Linked DNA regions of Homo sapiens: region 1 is linked to region 2. Evidence: promoter capture Hi-C in 16 types of primary human blood cells and fetal thymus (Javierre and others, 2016). All regions are on one chromosome and are shown on one strand. The core of a region is centred on a gene start or on the middle of the fragment in contact, and the rest is flanking DNA. Distances in the headings are between cores, read along the strand shown. Region 1 overlaps CCDC70 (coiled-coil domain containing 70). Region 2 holds the start of THSD1 (thrombospondin type 1 domain containing 1).

The links. The method cuts DNA at HindIII sites, captures the fragments that hold promoters and counts their contacts. A CHiCAGO score of 5 or more calls a contact.
Region 1: a fragment that was not itself captured here is called in contact with the fragment with the promoter of THSD1 in region 2 in 1 of 17 cell types (M2 macrophages); the score reaches 6.2 in M2 macrophages.

Annotation. Positions count from the first base shown.
Region 1 is chr13:51,864,793-51,870,734 of GRCh38, forward strand. It overlaps CCDC70 (coiled-coil domain containing 70), which reads left to right. Exons shown (of 2, transcript NM_031290.4): 2 at 540-1,440. The coding sequence starts at 620. The coding sequence ends at 1,288. It also overlaps a transcript of TMEM272 not described here. Among named protein-coding and RNA genes, the nearest start is that of CCDC70, 5.8 kb to the left of the region's middle. The HindIII fragment of the contact is 2,151 bases long and covers 3,439-5,589 here.
Region 2 is chr13:52,402,641-52,408,621 of GRCh38, forward strand. It overlaps THSD1 (thrombospondin type 1 domain containing 1), which reads right to left and starts at 3,532. Exons shown (of 5, transcript NM_018676.4): 1 at 3,391-3,532; 2 at 1-41. RefSeq lists a silencer at 3,462-3,621. The HindIII fragment of the contact is 11,042 bases long and covers 582-5,981 here.

The DNA.
Region 1 (5,942 bases), core at 3,264-5,763, 540 kb before region 2:
TGTCCCTGGAAACATTCACCATCGTCTCTCACCTTTTTGTTTTAAACCACTTTTCCCAAAATAAACTCCTCTCCTAAAATACACTCTCCTCCTCCCCTCTGAGGTCAGTGGGCCTGTCTTCTGTGTCCCAGGCTCGTAACAGAGGACATTCACACGTGAGCATGCCCATAGGCAGATAGGAACAATTCTCAAGTGAGTACACCAAAACCTAAATTCATTCGGATTGATTTAACAAACGTAAATTCTTCTTGGCCTCATCATGTCACACCTATGTGTTCTGATACCCTAGTTGACAGCCACTGTCCTTCTTGGCTGAGTGTCTACGTTTTTAGCAGCCTTGAGCTTGAATGTACTGACTGCCTCTCCAGCTCAAAGCCATGACCACCCCACATGTTTTTCTACCAAAGCTTGTCCCTCACAAACACCACCATGTGGACAAAGAGCAGTGATTACATTTTCTCAAATTCAGTAGTACAGAACCAAGGGCCGTCCCCTGGCATGTGATACTCATAGATCTGTCTTTTCTGCTGCCCCCACAGGGTCTGACCAGCCGACCTGGACCTGGCCAAGGGTCCTGTCATCCCTCATGGCCACCCCGCCATTCCGGCTGATAAGGAAGATGTTTTCCTTCAAGGTGAGCAGATGGATGGGGCTTGCCTGCTTCCGGTCCCTGGCGGCATCCTCTCCCAGTATTCGCCAGAAGAAACTAATGCACAAGCTGCAGGAGGAAAAGGCTTTTCGCGAAGAGATGAAAATTTTTCGTGAAAAAATAGAGGACTTCAGGGAAGAGATGTGGACTTTCCGAGGCAAGATCCATGCTTTCCGGGGCCAGATCCTGGGTTTTTGGGAAGAGGAGAGACCTTTCTGGGAAGAGGAGAAAACCTTCTGGAAAGAGGAAAAATCCTTCTGGGAAATGGAAAAGTCTTTCAGGGAGGAAGAGAAAACTTTCTGGAAAAAGTACCGCACTTTCTGGAAGGAGGATAAGGCCTTCTGGAAAGAGGACAATGCCTTATGGGAAAGAGACCGGAACCTTCTTCAGGAGGACAAGGCCCTGTGGGAGGAAGAAAAGGCCCTGTGGGTAGAGGAAAGAGCCCTCCTTGAGGGGGAGAAAGCCCTGTGGGAAGATAAAACGTCCCTCTGGGAGGAAGAGAATGCCCTCTGGGAGGAAGAGAGGGCCTTCTGGATGGAGAACAATGGCCACATTGCCGGAGAGCAGATGCTCGAAGATGGGCCCCACAACGCCAACAGAGGGCAGCGCTTGCTGGCCTTCTCCCGAGGCAGGGCGTAGCCAGCATGCAGGTGCAGGGCCCTGTGGTCCAGACTCCCCTGGGTTGGGATTCAAGTCCAGGGTGAGCCCATGTGCTGGAGAAAATACACACTCATTGGTCTCCTTGCTTTGAAAGATCCAATAAAGTCCTGAGGCAAGGTTTGGAAAACCAACTTATTTGAGGAAGGCTGGCTGCATTTTTTCCAGGTTTTGTGATGATCCAAGGTCATGTTCCCACCTCTGGGCCACAGAGATCGGTCCCAGGCAGCTCCCAGTGACCCCAGCCTGTGCGGGTGTTTGGAAGTGGAGACGCTTTGGCTCTCTTTAAGAGTCAAAATGGGGAGGAGAGGCTCGGGCCATGCCAGCTAGAGACACACAGGGACAGAGAGGAGCTGAGATGCCGCTGTCTCCGCCACGCTGTGGGGAGGTCACTTCTCCTTCACTTGGGGCAGTCTTGGAGGCCTGGAGAGGGCTGGCAGCATTCCAGTAAAGGCCTCTGTGCTGTTAATTCTTCATTTGTGCCTCTTCCTCCTCTGGTAGGGCATGTGGAGGACACAGGCAGAATCCCTGTACGACCCACTCACTGGTAGTTCCGAGTTCCACCAAACGTCTCAGCTGCCCTACTCAGGCAGCGTGAGAATGGGGCCTTGGCGTGGGGGCTGAGACTCAAGAGTGCGGCCCCCAAGAGCACTGACGCCCCTGATGAGGGAGTCAAGTTGACCCATGGAGTGGCCTGGGCAATGCATGGGCATGCTCCCTGTCCCTGCCCTCACATATTCCCACTCACATAAGTCTCATGGTCCCTGTGTTTCTGTATTATACATTCTTTTTGGGGGGCTTCCTGCTTTCATCTATTTTAAAATTAAAATACCCTAGGGAGTAGTACATTGAATGAATGTACATGAATGTGGTCAAGCAACTTATGTGCCCAACTTTTCTTCTGGGGGTGGGGAGATTAGATGGCCTTTATAGGGAATGCCACACAAATGACCAGAGTGAGGGAGTAAGGGAGTAAGAAACGCCACGACAAATGTGTCCTGCTCCCCCTTTCCTTAGGCCTGGCCTTCACTGTCATTAACACATCAACTTACCTCACCGTAGTGGGTCCCCTACTACTAGACAAGCACTTTCTCATGCACCTCCTCATGTGACCTTCACCACAGCTCTGTGGGCTGGCAGGGAAGGTGCATAAACCCATTGTACAGATGAGGAAACAGAGACCTAAAGAAGCAATGTGAGTGCATGTGGTTCAGCAAGTAGCAAATAGGAGGGCCAGGACCAAAACCCACAGTGTCTGTCTCTTGGTATTGTGGCCCTTTCCTAATACAGCCCTGGGTCACGGGAAGTGACTTGGCTGATAGTGGTGTCAATACTGGGAGAGCCTTAAAGTACACTAGGATTTCACAGTGGCTTGGGGGTGGAGAGCTAGGGAGAGGAGAGGACAGGGATCTTTACAAAGTCAAGGGTGAACAAATACCCTTGGTGCCAGGAGAGTGGGCCGACTCCCAGGAGCAGCCAGGCCTCTGAGGCTTCAGAAGATTGTGGGAAAGCCTGGGTTACTGCATGGCCAATGGAAAAATTGGCGCTGGGAAAGTCTGGGTTCCCTGCAAGTCCTCTGATTCTCAGAGGAAGCAGGGTCAGAGAGCAGTGGGAGCAGCTTTCTCCTTGGTCACACACCCATCCTCAGCTCTCCATGGGTCCCAGGGCAAGGACTTCAGCAAGCCATGGGGAATAGGATGCAGGGTGGAGAGAATTCGATTTCAAGAGGGCTGCCAGGGGCCCACACTCAAGACCTGGACGGTGTGGGCCATTGGATGGTATTCACACTGCAGGAACCCCAGTGCAGAGAAAAGCTGCAGATTCAAAAATCCCCAGAGATTCTGCCAAAGACAAAATTCAGGATGAAGGGAGATGAAAAGTGTACTCTAGACCTCCACAATTGCAGACTCCTTTTATCTGCTGTGGAAAGGAAGTTCTCAAAGCTTGTTTAGCACCTGGGTGAACTCAACCTTTCTTCTTGTTCCCTGCCATCCAACAAGAAGGTGTGCAGCCAGCATCCCTTTGCTACATAAATCATTTAATTCATCATCCACTTATGTATTTATTCATCACCACTGTGCCTTGCCAACACTATGCTATGTTTGGGAACGAGCTAATTCTTGCCTACGGGAAGCTTTCCGTCCAGTGCGGGAGAGTCACACAATCACAATGTCATTATTTGGAAAATCTGGCAAATGCTAGGAGGGAAGAGGCCCATGGGGCTGCCTCTCTGAGAGAGCACTACAGCAGTGCATGTCACTCGAGTGTGCTTTAAACGCTATGCAAAGATGCACAGAGATGAATGAAACCGAGTTTTAGCCAAAAGGAAACCTAAGGATAAGTAAGCTGTGTACAACTAATATCTGGGAATCACCTGACCTTCAGCATTGTTTCACAGATAGAGTGCAGATAACATTCACAGAAACATCTCCTAACTTCTGGGCTTTTATTAATACTGTTAGCACAAATGCAGATAGATTTCTCCACAACCTCAGCAGCAGCCAAAGCTGGCTTCCCTTAGCCAGCACCTGTGACAGCAAGGCTGAACTCCTGAGAGAGTTCCTGGGTCTTTCGTAAGACAAAGCACAGGCAAATATCTATGGAGTGGCTCAGTCTCCCTGCTTTGAGCTCCTGGCAGGGAGAAATGTCATTTATGGTGTTTCAGAGTCCTGCTCATTTAGCTGAGTTCCAGACTCGAAATGAATCATCTTTTATTCCAAAATCATAATGCAGATACTAGAAGATTCAGAGGCGCCAGAAACAGCATCTATTGTCATAACTGTTGTTTCACCACTAAATTCATCTTCCCCGCAAAGCCTGAGCTGTGCCTCCACCCAGAAGTGCTTACCCAAATTACCCAAAGCTGCCAGAAGGGAAAGGAAATATTTTTGAAATGCAGTGGGTTCTCCAGTGTCTTCTCTGGTTTAAACCATCTGTGGTTTATCTCCAGGAAAGGGGCTACTCACCCAACCCCTCTCCACCTTGCCATCCCTAGACTCATGCAAGAGTTTAGATAGAGAAGGCATCCCACTGGCTGTCTAGTTGAACCCCCTTATTTTGTAGATGAAGGAACAATGCTCAGTGAAGAGACTTTGGCTGTGGTAAGGAGTGGAGCTGTGTCATGATCAAGGTCTGACTCTAGTTCATCTATTGCTCTCTCCATCCTCACATTATTAACCTCAACAAAGCTATTCCTCATTGCCCCGAGGAGGGTGGACCATGTCCTAAGTTCTTATGTGCCAGCATTAGACGTCGTGCTATCAAGAATTATCTTGTCCCTTTAAACGGTATCAATGGGGCTAGCTCCACCCTTGTCCCTAAATTAAAACTCGAGTAGACACCATGGATTCTTCCAGTCACTTTAAGTTAAAAAACCCAGTCCCAATTCAGTAATTTTTTTTTTTTTTTTGAGATGGAGTCTCGCCCTGTCGCCCAGGCTGGAGTGCAGTGGCACGATCTCGGCTCACTGCAACCTCTGCTTCCAGAGTTCAAGGGATTCTCCTGCCTCAGCCTCCTGAGTAGCTGGGATTACAGGCACCTGCCGCCATGCCCGGCTAATTTTTGTATTTTTAGTAGAGACGGGGTTTCGCCATGTTGTCCAGGCTGGTCTCCAACTCCTGACCTCGTGATCCGCCCACCTCAGCCTCCCAAAGTGCTGGGATTACAGGTGTAAGCCACCGCGCCTGGCCTCAATTCAGTAATTAAGATGTTCCATTCCCATGTAATAAAGCTCTGGACCCTCAAGTACGCTCTGCAGGAATCAGAAATCCTGCAGTCGAAGAGGGATGAATACTTCTCCTTTTTCTCTCCTGGTTGTGCTCATGTAGGTTCGGATCCTTCCGAGGTAGAAGTAGAGGGGACGGAGAAGCAGGATAGTTCTTCCATGACTGATCCTATTCAAGAGGTCTAGCTTTGACCCTCTCTGGATTCGACAGCTGTTTAAAGCTGCTGCTTCTTAGTCTTTATGGTGGCTTTTGTGGTTCCTTGGTTACCCCTTTCCCTGTGAAAGTCGTTGATGCCAAGGTGAAGTCACTTACATCAGGCCTAAGCAAAGTGGAGCCGAGGGGGTCATGAAGGAGGGGATCTCACACTCAAACAGCATGACAGTGCTGTTGTGGTTGGATAATATTTTGAAATATATAAAAGTTCTTTGGTTTTTTTTGTGTGTGTGACTATCTATTTAACCAGAGCCATCCATTTTATTAGGATAAATTAAAAATACACATAGAAAGGGTCTTTATTCAGTTTTTGGCTTTTAAAATAGGTTCTTGGCCCATTTCAGAAGCTTTATGAGAGGAGGAAAAAAGAAAAAACAAAGAATAATTTTCAAATTAAAGGGCAAAGCCCAGAAGAAATGAGAATGAAAGAGAAGAGGAGGGGATGTCCAGTTAAAGATAACAAAGCAAATGCATGCACTGGCTTCTACTCCCTCAAGTCCCGATAAAACACAGAGAAGGGGTTGTTTTTAAAAATCAGAAATCCACAAGAACAAAAAGAATCAGAAAGAAACCAATAGCAACACAATTTTGAAAGCAGAAAAGCTGAGGAATGAGTGGAAACGGAATTAGCAAAAATAATAAATCTGAATTCTAAGCTGGCAGTGGGGAAAGCCAAGAACCAACCCAACTTATACTAC
Region 2 (5,981 bases), core at 2,282-4,781:
CTTTCTCACGTCCAGATTGTGATTTTTTTCCCCAAAAACACCTGAAATTAGAACCTCAAAAAATGATGGCTCCGTTCAATGTGATTGATAAAATAGTAATCATTAAATGACAAAACCATTCTAAAACTCAAACTTTCTAAGTGATATTGAAAGGAAACTAGAGAGGACACTAATTTTCCCTGGGGCAATGACTTATAATTATACAAGCCTTTTTCATTCCATTATAACTCACAGGTCAAGAATATGCAGGTATGCCCAACACCCACTAAAATTATCTTTGCACAACACCAAAGTCTCTTCTCTTTACAGCACATCCTGACGTGGAGAGTTTATTGTTATTTGCTTAATTTTATCAAAGTTAATAGCCAATTTGGATACATTTTCACATTATTTATCTGCTTGGCATTTCACACTGATCAATTTACTAAATTTCTGCTAAACTTTAATTTAGCATTGTGCTGTGTATACCCAAATGCTCCCTGCCTGGCGTCCACAAATGGGCTAACATTTCCTTGCACAATTGGTGTGTTACCAGGATTGCTTCATTTATCAATTCCTAGGAGCTACATCCAAGTGATCAAAGCTTTTTTAAAAAAAAGATACCCCAGAATACTACAATTAAATATGAACTCCATGTGGCCCTGACTTCCCTTGTTTAGGGCAGCCTAAGGAGAAAACAGACAAATAACAATCATCTTCATCAGTCCTGCAATACTTGTTGCTGCTGGTATGCATCACGAGATCGGTGGTTCACACAGCAATCTTCCCAGTCTACCTAAGAGGGCAGGGAAGACCTTGCTGGCCTGTGGTTCAGTTATTTGTTGGAAGAAGCACTTATTTTATTTTATTTATTTATTTAGAGATGGAGTCTCACTCTGTCGCCTAGGCTGGAGTACAGTGGCGAGATCTCGGCTCACTGCAAGCTCCGCTTCCCGGGTTCACGCCATTCTCCTGCCTCAGCCTCCCGAGTAGCTGGGACTACAGGCGCCCACCACCATGCCCAGCTAATTTTTGGTATTTTTAGTAGAAACGGGGTTTCATTGTGTTAGGCAGGATCTCGATCTCCTGACCTCGTGATCTGCCCATCTCAGCCTCCCAAAGTGCTGGGATTACAGGCGTAAGCCACCGCACCCGGCTGGAAAAGGCACTTATTTTTATATAGACTATTCAACTATAGAATAAGATACTGGGCATTTAAGACAGTTCTTTCATACTAGAGTCTAGCAAACTATGTATTAATATTAAATATAACCAAATATGTACTTTCTTAATGTTTAAGGTCCCCCCCATTATTCACATTTTTTTTTTTTTTTTTTTTTTTTTTTTAGACAGAGTCTTGCTCTGTCACCTAGCCTGGAGTGCAGTGGCATGATCTTGGCTCACTGCAACCTCCACCTCCCAGGTTCAAGTGATTGTCCCACCTCAGGCTTCTGAGTAGCGGGGATTATAGGTGTGCACCACCACGCTTGGCTAATTTTTGTATTTTTAGTAGAAACGGTGTTTCACCACTTTGGCCAGGCTGGTCTCAGATGTCTGGCCTCGTGATCTGCCCACCATGGCCTCCCAAAGTGCTGGGATTACAGGCGTGAGCCACCACACCCAGCCCACAGTTAATCATTTTAATAAGCAAGTATATTATATTCCAAATACATGTTACATCTTTTCAGATAAGAGCACAAATTAGTGGAATTAAGAAGACTGATTGAAATAAGCCAGAATTCAATGGAAGGGAAACTGGTGTGTCTTATTAGCTTTCTTTCAGCAAGAGCTGCTGAACAAAGGAAATACTGTACTTCCTGAAAGGGAAACAGAGATTTGAAGTGTAACTATGCAGATTAGGGCTCCTTCCTCTTCCCCGCCACCCCCACCCAAAAAAAAGAAAAGAAAGGAAAGAAGAAGAAAATTGTTTTGGGTGGAATTAGCCACAGACTTGACCCAATTCTTTCCTCGAACATGGACTGGGAAACCTGGGCAAAGTCAGCCAGTAAGATCCTTGCAGAACACATCACATCACTTGGGCAAGTGTGAGCACTTAAGACAATTACAATGCTTCTTTTAAGTCACTGAGACCTGGTAACCAAACTAAGAAGAAGCAAGCTCCCAAAAGTTGAACTGGCTTCTCTCAGATTTGTTTGCTTCCACGACAATAACATTTTTATTTTTGAAGCCCCAAATCATTACTGATTTAGTGATTATAACACATTTTCTTTCTTATGAAAATGATCGGTAAAACATAGAATGGTGAGACAATCTATATTTAGAGCTGAATGGAAAAAGACTTATAAAACAGACCAGCCTACTTGTCAATCATAATATGGAATATGATCATAACATTAGTCATAATATGTCTCTTTAATTTCTTTCTACCTTGCTTATTTTCTTTCAACATGTTGTTCTCAATACCTCGACTGACTTCTTACAATGTTTGCATTGAGAATTGTTCTAAGAAATTAAGAACTTAGATATATTTTATACACATTTGAAAATACTTCTACCTAGCATTCTTGTATGTAAACTTTAGAGACAAATTCTAAATGCATCAGCTGAGAAGGTGGGGAAAAGTTGTGAATATTCTCAATGGCTAACAGCATCACCCAACCTGAGACCCCATGTTTTTGCTGAAACCAGCTAGGACAAACGCTTCTAAATCTCCCTTCATAGCTGCAGAAAAAGTAAATGAATTACACTAATGTCCATGGGACCAATGATTCGTGAAAGAATAAAATGGAAAACGAAGCAGTTATTTTGTCCCTTCTGACCAACATGCACATGCTTGTGTGTATATATACCAATAGTATTTATTGGGAGGAAATCTCTAGTTCTAAAGCAGCTCGTGTAAACAGGCTTCATTTATCTGTTCATTCGAGTTTGCTCTGCCCTGGTCCCACAGGTTGGGTGCAGCGTTCCTGGGACGCCCTGGCTCGCCCCATCTACTCAGCTTCCCAAATGCCCGCAAGCCCAGTTCACGCCTGGAAGTCTACCCCTCGCGTCGTCAGCTTAAAGCCCTCCTTAATGAGGACCGTCTTTAATTTAATTTAATCCTTGTATTTCATACTTTTTGTATATCAGAAAGGATTTCTTTTTGGAAAGAAACAGTAGCTCAAGACGCGATTTTTCAAGGTTCTGTGGCCAGTCTCAGTCACTCGGCAACATCTGAGCCAAGGCAGAGCCAGGTTCACTTAAATTCGGGACTCCGAAGTGTGGAGACCAATACCCCTTAAAAGCGTCCCCTGGGGCCGAGGCGGGTGTGGGGAGGGGCCGCCACCGTCCACCTGCGCCTTCAGGCTGCGGTGAGGTGGCAGAGTCCGGAGGCATTTCCCGACCCCAGAGGAGCCTCCAAGAGTCTCGCGGCACGGGCGCGAACACCAGGATGCGGAGGGCGCTTCTTACCTTTCGAGACTGACGGGCAGCAACCCCAGGCCGTCCGGGCGCGTGGCGAGGCGGACGGGAAGGCTCAGGGGCGGCGAGGTAGAGCGCCAAGCATCCCGCGTCCCAGACTGCACGCCCTGACCCCGCGGCGTTCGGCTCCCACAGCCCCGCGGGGCCCGCCCCCGACGGCGTGGGGAGGGCGGGCGCCGGGAGGGCGGGGGGCACACGGGACCGGGCGTGGTCGGTTCCCGCCCCTTCTGGGCAGCGCATCCTTTCCTGCCGGTCCCCAGCTCGCCAGCTGCTGGACAGGAAACAGGCAGGAAACGCGCGGCCAGCCAAGGTCCTGCGGGAGGGGGTGCGGCCCCGGCAGACGCAGGTCCCCTCAACACACACCCGCATCCACAGCACACAGCCGGACCAGGGGTTTAACGAAGGACGAGCGAGCAATCTCCTGACACTTCACATTCAATCACTTCTACTCTAGTGTCATTTTCTTCAGGGAGACCACAAAAATAAGTCCTTGAAGCGGCACAGCATGTGGGCTGTAAACTTGCTTTCCCAAATGTCACTGAAGAGTTTCAAAAGAACATAGTTCAGGTAAAGTGCATCTCCATTTTCTTTCCCTGGGGTCAGAATTGGTATTAAAAATAACTAAACATTTTAAAAACTCTACTCTGCAAGTGTTAAAGTTCTTTTTATAGGAATGTGAATTAGTTCAGCCACTGTGGAAAGCAGTTTGGAGATTTCTCAACTAAAAACAGAAAGATCATTCGACCCAGCAATCCCATTACTGGGTGTATGCCCAAAGGAAAATAAATCATTCTGCCAAAAAGACACCCGCACTATGTTTATCACAGTACTATTTACAATAGCAAAGACATGGAATCAACCTAGGTGCCCATCAACAGTAGACTGGGTAAAGAAAATGTGGTACATACACACCACGAAATACTAAACAGCCATAAAAAAAGAACAAAATCACGTCCTCTGTAGCAACATGGATGCAGTTGGAGGACATTATCCTAAGTGAATTAACATAGGAACAGAAAACCAAACACCGAATGTTCTCACTTATAAGTGGGAGCTTAAACAACGGGTACTCATGGACATAAAGATGGCAACAACAAACACTGGAGACTCCAAGTCAAGGGAGGGAGAGAAAGGGGCAAGGGCTGAAAAACATCCTATTGGGTACTGTGTCCGGAATTGGTGGGTTCTTGGTCTTTCTGACTTCAAGAATAAAGCTGCGGACCCTCGCGGTGAGTGTTACAGTTCTTAAAGGCGGCCTGTCCGGAGTTTGTTCCTTCTGATGTTCGGATGTGTTCAGAGTTTCTTCCTTCTGGTGGGTTCGTGGTCTCGCTGGTTCAGGAGTGAAGCTGCGGACCTTCGCCATGAGTGTTACAGCTTTTAAGGCGGCGCGTCTGGAGTTGTTCGTTCCTCCCAGTGTGTCCGTAGTCTCGCTGGCTTCAGAAGTGAAGCTGCAGACCTTCGCAGTGAGTGTTACAGCTCATAAAGGCAGTGTGGACCCAAAGAGTGAGCAGCAGCAAGATTTATTGCAAAGAGCCAAGGAACAAAGCTCCCACGCTTTGCAAGGGAACCCCAGCGGGTTGCCACTGCCGGCGCGTGCAGCCTGCTTTTATTCTCTTATCTGGCCCCACCCACATCCTGCTGATTGGTTCATTTTACAGAGAGCGGAGTGGTCTGTTTTGACAGGGCGCTGATTGGTGCATTTACAATCCCTGAGCTAGACACAAAGGTTCTCCACGTCCCCACTACATTAGCTAGATACAGAGTGTCCACACAAAGGTTCTCCAAGTCCCCACAAGAGTAGCTAGATACAGTGTCCATTGGTGCATTCACAAACCCTGAGCTAGACACAGGGTGCTGATTGGTGTGTTTACAAACCTTGAGCCAGATAGAGTGCCGACTGGTGTATTTACAATCCCTTAGCTAGCCATAAAGGTTCTCCAAGTGCCCACCAGTGAGGAGCCTAGCTGGCTTCACCCAGTGGATCCCGCACCGGGGCTGCAAGTGGAGCTGCCTGCCAGTCCCGCGCCCTGTGCCCGCACTCCTCAGCCCTTGGGTGGTCGATGGGACTGGGCGCTGTGGAGCAGGGGGTGGTGCTCGTCAGGGAGCTCGGGCCTCACAGGAGCCCATGGAAGGTGGGGGAGGCTCAGGCATGGCGGGCTGCAGGTCCCGAGCCCTGCCCTGCTCAGGGAGGCAGCTAAGGCCCTGCGAGAAATTGAGCGCAGCGCCGGTGGGCCGGCACTGCTGGGGGACCCAGCACACCTTCTGCAGCTGCTGGCCCAGGTGCTAAGCCCCTCATTGCCCGGGGCCGGCAGGGCCCACCGGCCGCTCCGAGTGCGGGCCCGCCGAGCCCACACCCACCCGGAACTCGTGCTGGCCCGCAAGCACCGTGCGCAGCCCCGGTTCCCGCCAGCGCCTCTCCCTCCACACCTCCCCGCAAGCTGAGGGAGCCAGCTCCAGCCTCAGCCAGCCCAGCCCAGGAAGGGGCTCCCACAGTGCAGCAGCGGGCTGAAGAGCTCCTTAAGTGCCGCCAAAGTGGGAGCCCAGGCAGAGGAGGTGCTGAGAGCCAGCGAGGGCTGTGAGGG